Regions from separate parts of the Homo sapiens genome. Here all the other regions are linked to region 2. Evidence: promoter capture Hi-C in 16 types of primary human blood cells and fetal thymus (Javierre and others, 2016). All regions are on one chromosome and are shown on one strand. The core of a region is centred on a gene start or on the middle of the fragment in contact, and the rest is flanking DNA. Distances in the headings are between cores, read along the strand shown. Region 1 holds the start of LOC102724080 (a long non-coding RNA gene). Region 2 holds the start of GAS1 (growth arrest specific 1). Region 3 overlaps TUT7 (terminal uridylyl transferase 7).

Region 1 (3,252 bases), core at 350-2,849, 530 kb after region 2:
TTCATCCTCATCGCAGCTTTATGGGAAAAATCACCAAATCCCTGTACAAAGAACTGCTGGGATTTTTTTCTTTAACTCTACTGCCATCTAGTGTTGAGAAAAGAGAATTCTGGACTCTGCAAAAAAGAATGTATATTATTTGCTATTTGCTTGTATATCTAGATTCAAACCTGTTTTATTGCAGAATAAATTTGGAAGCTATATCCACCATGATCTTCTTGTTTTATTTTGGATTCAGTAAAATTTCTAAGAAAAAAACTTCAAAAATTAGGCCATATTTCACATTATCCTGAAGGCAAGATGGACAGTAAGGCTTAGTTTTCCCAGCGACCCTTTGGCCCATTTGGCGTCACAAAGGAGTTCCCCTCTTCCTTCCAGCTATTTGTCTGGTTCTTTGGCATGACTTCTTTGTGATGCTTACTGGTCATTGGCTGTTTCCTGTGACTCCTGTGGGAATGTGAGCTCCCGGAAGGCAGAGATTTTGCCTTTTTTTTTTTTCTTTCCTGCTTTGTTCATTGATATATCCGAAATTACTAGAGCAAAGCCTGGAACATACATGACAAGCATTTAATAATTATTTATTCAATAAATAAAGGAATAAATGAAGGAATGTTGGGAATCATTCTAGAAATGGGTGTAAAGGCATACTAGGGGACTTCGAAAAGGTCATGGGGGCCAGGCACGGTGACTCACGCCTGTAATCCTAGCACTTTGGGAGGCCAAGGCAGGAGGATTACCTAAGGTCAGGAGTTCAAGACCAGCCTGGCCAACAAGGTGAGACCCGGTCTCTACTAAAAATACAAAAATTAGCCAGGCATGATGGTGCACACCTGTAATCCCAGCTACTCAGGATGCTGATGTAGGAGAATCACTTGAACCTGGGAGGCAGATGTTGCAGTGAGCCAAGATCATGCCACTGCAGTCCAGCCTAAACGACAGAGCAAGACTCCGTCTCAAAAAAAAAAAAAAAAAAGAATTAAAAGATAAAAATACCAGCCTGGCCAACATGGTGAAACCCCATCTCTACTAAAAATACAAAAATTAGCCAGGTGTGGTGGTGTGTGCCTGTAATCCCAGCTTCTCGGGAGGCTGAGGCACAAGAATCATTTGTGCCCAGGAGGTGGAGATTGCAGTGAGCCAAGATCGTGCCACTGCATTCCAGCCTGGCCGACAGAGCCAGACTCTGTCTTAAATAAATAAATAAATAAATAAATAAATAAATAAATAAATAATATAAACTTTATTTCCCAACATAAGCTTCATCAAGTTCAAGATACTTTTCTAAGTGATGATACCAACCATTTTGTCCATCCCTAAAGAACTGAGGGTCCTGGGAATTTAACCATGTTCATGTTGTCTTTTCTATGTTATTAACTGAGGAAAAATGGGTGATCTTTAAAGATTTTTTTAAGAATAGAAAACAGAAAGAAGTCAGATGGAGCCAAATCAGGACTGGAGGATAGGCACCTAATGATGTCTCATCAAAACTCTTGCAAGATTGACCTTGTTTGCTGAGAGGAATGAGCAGCAGCATTGTCATGGTAGAGAAAGACTCTCTGGTGAAGCTCTTCCAGGAGTTTTTCTGCTAAAACTTTTGCTAGCTTTCTCAAAATGCTCTCATAATAGTCAGATGTTATTGTCCAGAACATCAACAAGCAAAATGCCTTGAGCATCCCAAAAAACTGTTGCCATAACCTCAGCTCTTGACCCATCGTCTTTTGCTTTGACTGCACCACGTTCACCTCTTGGTAGCCATTGCTTTGATTGTGCCTTGTCTTCAGGACCATACTGGTAAAGCCATGTTTCATCTCCCGTTACTAGTCTGAAGAAATGCTTCAGGATCTTGATCCTATGTATTTAAAATTTCCACGGAAAGCTCGGCTTTTGTCCACAGCTGACCCAGGCACAACTGTTTTGGTACCCATTGAGCGGGAAGCTTGTTCAACTTTAATTTTTTAGTCAGAATTGTGTAAACTGAACCAGTTGAAATGTCGAGAATGTTGGCTATTGTTTGTGCTGTTAATTTTCAGTCCTAATAATGATGTTCCTTTGTCTATGATGATGGCTATTGTTTGTATTGTTGATTAGGGTATGAACAAGAAAATTTTTTCCTTGCAAATTGATGTGGATAGTCTGCTGCTGCAGGCTTCATCTTCAACAATGTTGTCCTTTCTTTTCCTTTTCCTTTTAAGAGACAGGGTCTCACTCTGTCACCCATGTCGGAGTGCAGTAGCACCATTGTAACTCTCTGCAGGCTCAAACTCCTGGGCTTAAGCAATCCTCCTGCCTCAGCCTCCCAAGTAGCTCAGACTGTAGGCATGCACCACCGCACCCAGGTAAATGTTCTATTTTTTGTAGAGAAAGGGTCTCACTTTGTTGCCTAAGCTGGTCTCAAACTCTTGGCCTCAAGCAATCATCCTTGGCCTCTCAAAGTGCTGGGATTATAAGCGTGAGCCACCTCACACGGCCCTGTCCTTTCCTAAAACAAGTTATTCATTTGTAAAATTATCACTTGAAGAATTTTCTCCATAAACTTTTTGTAAAGCATCAGTGATGTTACCATTCTTCCACCCAAGCTTCACCACAAATGTGATGTCTGTTCTTGCTTGAATTTTAGCAGAATCCATGTTTCTCTTATAAGGACTCTTTTCAAACGGATGCATTATCCTCCTTAGTGCCTCAAACTAGACCCTGTTCAGATATATTATAATAAATTAGTACAAGTTTATTTGCTGTAAAAAAAGAATTTTAAATCCATGCACAGTTTTTTCACAATACATATTTTTCATGGACTTTTTGAAGACCCCCTTATATTTGCGGTGTTAGTTTCGCTTTGTGACTGACATCTTTTCTTGTGGGCACAGCACATTTTCATTCACAGGCTACTCCCTGACCTTTGACTCATGATTCCCTCTGGGGAGATGAGCACTATCAGTTATTTGAAGTCTTTGAAATATGATTTGAAATCATATTTCCACTCAAATAAACATTGCTTCTGTTTCTCAAAAACAGAGAGATGGAGAGGAATCATGCAACACTAGATATTACATGAGTAGACATTACAGCACATTATCTGTCCATCAAAAACAGAAATACCAATAGGAACCATGTAATGTTAGAATCAAATGAATTTTTAGAAACCATAAAGCAAACCAGATAAGCTCTTGATTCTCAATTTCAGGCTAAATCTTAAAAATAATATTCTAAAGCAAGAAAAGCAGTTGTAAAGGTTGTTTTGTTTCCTTCTATTTA
Region 2 (3,457 bases), core at 233-2,732:
CTGGCTCTTTTAAGGTTTGATTTTGGTTTTGGGGACTGCAGAGGTGCAGCTTCCCACGGCAGACCAAGCGCCTCTGAGGAACGCAGCAGCTTCAGCAGGTACAGGAAGATTTCCCGCAGCCGGAGGAATCTCCTAGTGCTGGGCCTCCGGCTGTGACTTTTGCCATTTCAAATTCACTTGGCCTCTAGGGAGAGGCAGACAGCCCGACGCTGAGCGCGTCGGAGCCCCGGCTCCCTCTGCTTCTGGAGAGGAGATTTAGCCTTAATTTTTGTGACAGATGGAGTTGATAGTCTCTCCACGGAAAGGGGAGGAAAAAAGCGCCAGTTTTTGACAGGCCGCAGACGCCCGCTGCCTCTGGTGGCGGAAGGCTGCGTTGCGCCCCAGTTAAGGTAGCTCGGAAACTCCCTCGCCGAGAAGGCAGAGGTTTCCTCTGCAGAGCAGCCTCCCTTAAATATACTGAGGGGCTGAAACTTACACTTTAATATAAACCTTTGGTGCGTGCCCATTTATTCCGTCTTCTGTCCTGTGACTGCGGCCAGGTGGTAATTGCTCGACATTCCTGAATATTTTTAATGCTAGTTAAATTTTTTCATTATTGCACGTGTTGCAAGCTTATCTTCCTAAGAAATTATTTCGGTTGATTGGATTTCGGTCTTGCAATTTGAAAACGATGCCTGGCGCACGGGCGGTACCTGCCAGATGGCCTAGCTGGGGCTGGGGGGTGGCGGGCGGGTTGTAAGCATCTCATCAACATCTCCCTAATAAAGTGTGTGCTTCTTTCTTGTATGCTTCTTTAAAACAGTTTCAGTCTCACATTTTATCTCTGGATTCTCCCCTTCCCCTCTGTGGTGATCAAGACCCAAAGACAGGGAGCCTGGAAGATAAACTGAGTTCTGAATCCAGTCGAAAGCACAGATGGGGGCCAGCGAGAATTAATAAAACTACAAAAAAAAAAAAAAAGAAAAAAAAAACAAACAAAAAAGGCCCGTGGCTGAGCCGGATGCAAACAGCTGCCCCTAAGCCCTGCCCGCTGGTTCTGTGCGCGAGCTGGGGCTGCATATCCGAGCCTCCTTAAGAGTAGGAGGAGCTCCGGGCCTCCGTCAGGCTCCCTAAGCCGTTCCTTTCAAGCCCTGAATGCCTGAATGTGAGCTGCCCACCACCCTCCCGCCCTCCCCCACTCCGCAACCCCACTCCAGCGGCTCGTAAAAAAAAAAAAAAAAACTTTCAACAACAACAGGCAGGACCAATAGCATCTCGAAAAGCCGGGAAAGGGGGCCGAGCAAAGGGCGAAAGAGAGTGGAGAAAGGAGAAAGCGGGCAGGCTCGGAGCGCGCGGGGCCGGGGCTCGGCGAGCCGGAGGAGCGTTGCTAATGTTTTTGTTTGTTTGCTTTTCCATGCATGCATAATGAGGGGGCACCGCGGCACCACGCGGGGGCTCCCGGCCCACTTTTGTATTTAAAGCCTCGCTGCTAACGAGTCTGCAGCCGGGCTCAGCGGATCCGCTCCCCGGGCTCTTGGTCACCCGAGAAGCTGCCGCCGAGTGAAGCCAGGGAGCCGCTCTCCGGCAGCGCCGACTTTCTTGTTCTCCCCGCGCTTCCCGGAAAGAGCTCCCCGGAGCTCTGCGGAGGCCGGGGTTGCCGCGGGCGGAGGGGGAGGGGACGCGGGGCGGCCGGGCCGCGGGAAGGCGGGCAGCGCGCGGACGCCGGGCCAGGAAGCGGCGCGATGCGAGAGACCGCGGCGGCGGTGGCGGCGGCGAGGCACTGAGCCCAGGAGGAAGGAGCCGCCGCGGCCGCAGCGCGAGCAGCCGGCACGGGGACAGCCGGCCGCACAACGGATCTGCAGGCGCGGAGCAAAATGCACCCGCCGCGCCGCGCGGTCCTGCAGCCCCGCCACGGCCCCGCGGCCCGCACCCCCCCGGGGCGACAGTGAGCCTCTCCCGCCACCACCGGGGGCCGAGCGGAGGGCTCTCGGGTGGGAGAGCGGGACCAGATCTCGACAGCTGTTCATTTCCAGGAAGCCACCGCAGCCAGAGCGAAAGGGGACCTTCTGCCACCAGCGGGGCATCAGCCAGCGGCGCGCATGGATTTATGAAGACACTCATGCAAGAAGTGGGCAGGACTTGGACAAACTTTTCCACCGGCTCCGCGTCCGCCGCTCCCCGCGCCTCGTCTCCTTTCCCCTCCTCTCCCGGCGGCCGCCGCTGCCCGCGATGGTGGCCGCGCTGCTGGGCGGCGGCGGCGAGGCCCGCGGGGGGACAGTGCCGGGCGCCTGGCTGTGCCTGATGGCGCTGCTGCAGCTGCTGGGCTCGGCGCCGCGGGGATCGGGGCTGGCGCACGGCCGCCGCCTCATCTGCTGGCAGGCGCTGCTGCAGTGCCAGGGGGAGCCGGAGTGCAGCTACGCCTACAACCAGTACGCCGAGGCGTGCGCGCCGGTGCTGGCGCAGCACGGCGGGGGCGACGCGCCCGGGGCCGCCGCCGCCGCTTTCCCGGCCTCGGCCGCCTCTTTCTCGTCGCGCTGGCGCTGCCCGAGTCACTGCATCTCGGCCCTCATTCAGCTCAACCACACGCGCCGCGGGCCCGCCCTGGAGGACTGTGACTGCGCGCAGGACGAGAACTGCAAGTCCACCAAGCGCGCCATTGAGCCGTGCCTGCCCCGGACGAGCGGCGGCGGCGCGGGCGGCCCCGGCGCGGGCGGGGTCATGGGCTGCACCGAGGCCCGGCGGCGCTGCGACCGCGACAGCCGCTGCAACCTGGCGCTGAGCCGCTACCTGACCTACTGCGGCAAAGTCTTCAACGGGCTGCGCTGCACGGACGAATGCCGCACCGTCATTGAGGACATGCTGGCTATGCCCAAGGCGGCGCTGCTCAACGACTGCGTGTGCGACGGCCTCGAGCGGCCCATCTGCGAGTCGGTCAAGGAGAACATGGCCCGCCTGTGCTTCGGCGCCGAGCTGGGCAACGGCCCCGGCAGCAGCGGCTCGGACGGGGGCCTGGACGACTACTACGATGAGGACTACGATGACGAGCAGCGCACCGGGGGCGCGGGTGGTGAGCAGCCGCTGGACGACGACGACGGCGTCCCGCACCCACCGCGCCCGGGCAGCGGCGCTGCTGCATCGGGCGGCCGCGGGGACCTGCCCTATGGGCCTGGGCGCAGGAGCAGCGGCGGCGGCGGCCGCTTGGCGCCCCGGGGCGCCTGGACCCCACTCGCCTCCATCTTGCTGCTGCTGCTTGGGCCGCTCTTTTAGCCCTCGCGCCCCCCGCCGTTGGCTGCGGGAGAGCCCGCGTCCCACTCCCGTGCTCGCCTCGACCCCGCGCCGGGCACCTGTGGCTTGGGACAGATAGAAGGGATGGTTGGGGATACTTCCCAAAACTTTTTCCAAGTCAACTTGGTGTAGCCGGTTCCCCGGCCACGACTCTGGGCACTTCCCCTGAAGCTCCTCTCCGGAGCTTGACTTC
Region 3 (3,366 bases), core at 206-2,705, 600 kb after region 2:
GCTCAGTGGTTTGTGTGTTTTCAAAATTGTGATTATAATTTTGTATTTGAATAATTAATGTGTTCATAATATAAATGACAGAATATAAAGCTTTTTTTAAAAAAAAAACTTATTTGTTGATGTAAAAACACAGTATACACTGCGTATATCTCCTGCCACAAGAGATATATCTTTTGGATGTAGTGTCAGTGTCCCGAGATGGATAATCTGAGATCTTTGTTTTTCAAAAGGGATCGTGACAAACAGGTTGAGAAACAAGTTTAGAAAGTCAGAAATAGATTCAAGCTTTGCTGTTTGGTTTCAGTAAGACCAAAACTAATTTCTCGGTGCCCTCACATGCTTGGTTAATTGCCCCAAAGGGATAATAAGGAGATAATATGTTTTTCTAAAAGTAAAAAGTAGATTTTATCCATGTGGCAACGATTTCTGCAAACAGGAAGGTTATTTTTATCTAATGGGAGATATATACCGAAATGAAATAAAGTCACAAATTGGATGGAAAAAATGAAACAATATCACAGTTGGAAACATGGACTTGTAAGTTTAGTGGCTGAAAGCGTTTTTTAGTGGTTGTATAGAATGTGTTTCAAACTGGCCAGCACTTTTAAATAAATTTTTTTAGTTTAAATGCATTCAGGGAATATGGACACTTTCTAGATCACCCGATGCCTTTTCTCTTCATGTTATCTCACAGTGGCCAGTTCATACACTGGTTACCTATAAGGTGTTTGAATTTGTGTCCCATGCGTATAGAATACTTAAAAGCCAAAAGGTCGTCTTTTATCTTTACAAGGTCTTAGGATAAAAATGAAAGTCTCAAGCACTTATTAATATTAAATGGGGGGAAATGTGCTACTTGATTTTTTTTCTTTTTTCACAGATACTTCTAGTTGTCAGATCTGTTTATTTATATTTTATTTTATTTTTTGAGACGGAGTCTCGCTCTGTCACCCAGGCTGGAGTACAGTGGCGCGATCTTGGCTCACTGCAACCTCTGCCTCCTGGGTTCAAGCGATTCTCCTGTCTCATCCCCCAAAGTAGCTGGGACTACAGGCACATGCCACCACATCAGGCTAATTTTTGTATTTTTAATAGAGACAGGGTTTCACCATGTTGGCCTGACTGGTCTCAAACTCCTAACCTCCAGTGATCCACCCACCTTGGCCTCCCAAAGTGCTGGGATTACAGGCGTGAGCCACCACATTCAGCCTGATTTTTTTTTTTTTTTTTTGAGACAGTCTCACTGTGTCACCCAGGCTGGAGGTGCAGTGATGTGACCTCCTCTCACTGTGGCCTCTGCCTCCCAGGATCAAGCGGTTCTCATGTCTCAGCCTCCCAAGTAGCTGGGACTACAGGTGCACACCACCATGCCCAGCTAATTTTTCTGTTTTTTAATAGAGATAGGGTTTCTCCCTGTTGGCCAGGCTGGTCTTGAACTCCTGACCTCAAGTGATCGACCTGCCTCTGCTTCCCAAAGTGCTGGGATTACAGGCGTGAACTACCGCGCCTGGCCCTCAGATATTTTTAAATTTGAAAATTAAGAGTATATATTAATATCAAGTAGCAGAAACAGAATGAAGTGTTATAAAGGCGTTAAGTAGTAGGGAGACATAAAACTTAAATCTTTAAGCTAGAAATAGCTTGAGGAATTATCTGATGCAGTACTCTGTTGTAATATATCAAAAATGGAATCACAGTTTTACAAATCAGGCAGCTGCAGCTCAGAGAGGTTAAATTTCCACAGACCTGTTTATGCAGCGCGGTAAATGAGGAAGTAGAACTAAAATTGGGGACTCTGCTACTCTGGCCATTAACTCAGCCTCGCTGGACCTGAAATCCTGACGGCGGAGCCGAATATTTCTTGATAATTTCTGGGCTTTTGATTTGTGTTTTTCTTTATTAAAAATTGTGTATATTTAAGTGTTTCTGTATTACTGTCCAGGTGGGATGTGGGTATTTAATTTTGTTACCTATAGTCTTGTAGAAGTTGATCTTGAAAACCATTTCATTTTATTATTATTATTCTCTTTTTTGAGATGGAGTCTCGCTCTGTAGCCCAGGCTGGAGTGCAGTGGTGCGATCTTGGTTCACTGCAACCTCCATCTCCCAGGTTCAAGCAATTCTCTTGCCTCAGCCTCCTGAGTGGCTGGGACTACAGGCACGTGCCACCACACCTAGCTAATTTTTGTATTTTTAGTAGAGTTGGGGTTTTAGCATGTTGGCCAGGGGTAGTCTCGATACCCTGACCTCATGATCTGCCTGCCTTGACGTCCCAAAGTGTTGGGATTACAGGTGTGAGCCACTGCACCCGGCTGAAAAGCATTTTAAAAAGAAAGTTTATAGATCAAAAATTTGCAACTAGACATTAAAAGGAACTGTTGGCTGACCACAAAAACTTTTATATGTTTTCTTATTTTATGTGTATTCTTATAAAAGCAACTAAAGAAGTTGCTTTTAAGTGTATTTGAATAGGAAATGCATTTTGCTATTTTTTTATTGGAGGTAATTCAAAAGTTTGCATGTTTTTGCTGTATGACATACAGGTATATGCTTTCACAGTTATTAAGTAAAGAATTATTCAGTTTCTATCCCTTGAAAATCTTCATATAGGAAGCATTAAGCTTCGGTATAACATTATTTAGTTTAGAGAGATTCAACTGAAAGTATAAACTAAAAAGGATCTCATTAAAGAGATCGAAATTTCTTTATCAAAATTGTGTCTTAATAAGGAAGGGTATTATTCAACAATGTGAGAAGATATAATGGAAATTATGGTGGAGTTGCTTTTTTCCCCCCCACATACGGTACTACCTTCTGTTTTTTTCAGCTCTACATTACTGCCCCTACTTTAGCCTTCAAATGTCCTAGATTGCCAGTTTAATGTATTTGGGACATTGCCATTAATGATCTTAGCTGGAAAGCATCCACTCAAATACACATGTCCTTTGTGAACCATATGCAAATAAAATATGGGAAACTTGGAATGCCGAATATAGAGAACTCTTATTACAATAAATCTGAGGTAAGCCAGGTAGTCTTCCTCCAAGTAATTATGAGAATTTTTCTTTTTTCTTTTTTTTTTTTGAGATGGAGTTTCACTCTTGTCGCCCAGGCTGGAGTGCAATGGCATGATCTCGGTTCACTGCAACCTCTGCCTCCCGAGTTCAAGCAATTCTCCTGCCTCAGCCTCCCGAGTAGCTGGGATTACAGGTGCCTGCCACCACGCCCAGCTAATTTTTGTATTTTTAGTAGAGACAGGGTTTCACCATGTTGGCCAGGATGGTCTCGAACTCCCGACCTCAGGTGATCCACCTGCCTCGGCCTCCCAAAATGCTGGGATTACAGGCATGAGCTGCCACGCCTGGC

The links. Contacts are between HindIII fragments. The CHiCAGO score rates a contact against its expected background, and 5 or more counts as called.
Region 1: a fragment that was not itself captured here is called in contact with the fragment with the promoter of GAS1 in region 2 in 1 of 17 cell types (endothelial precursors); the score reaches 6.3 in endothelial precursors.
Region 3: a contact is called between a fragment that was not itself captured here and the fragment with the promoter of GAS1 in region 2, in 1 of 17 cell types (total CD8 T cells). The highest score is 5.0, in total CD8 T cells.

What each region holds. Positions count from the first base shown.
Region 1 is chr9:86,411,302-86,414,553 of GRCh38, reverse strand. It overlaps LOC102724080 (a long non-coding RNA gene), which reads right to left and starts at 713. Exons shown (of 2, transcript XR_007061636.1): 1 at 1-713. The HindIII fragment of the contact is 679 bases long and covers 1,260-1,938 here.
Region 2 is chr9:86,945,531-86,948,987 of GRCh38, reverse strand. It overlaps GAS1 (growth arrest specific 1), which reads left to right and starts at 1,482. Exons shown (of 1, transcript NM_002048.3): 1 at 1,482-3,457. The coding sequence starts at 2,209. The coding sequence ends at 3,246. It overlaps GAS1RR (GAS1 adjacent regulatory RNA), which reads right to left and starts at 290. Exons shown (of 7, transcript NR_049794.1): 1 at 1-290. RefSeq lists silencers at 2,272-2,351, 2,422-2,491. The HindIII fragment of the contact is 4,442 bases long and covers 614-3,457 here.
Region 3 is chr9:86,348,998-86,352,363 of GRCh38, reverse strand. The region is part of intron 2 of TUT7 (terminal uridylyl transferase 7); the gene reads left to right. Among named protein-coding and RNA genes, the nearest start is that of TUT7, 3.7 kb to the left of the region's middle. The HindIII fragment of the contact is 2,336 bases long and covers 288-2,623 here.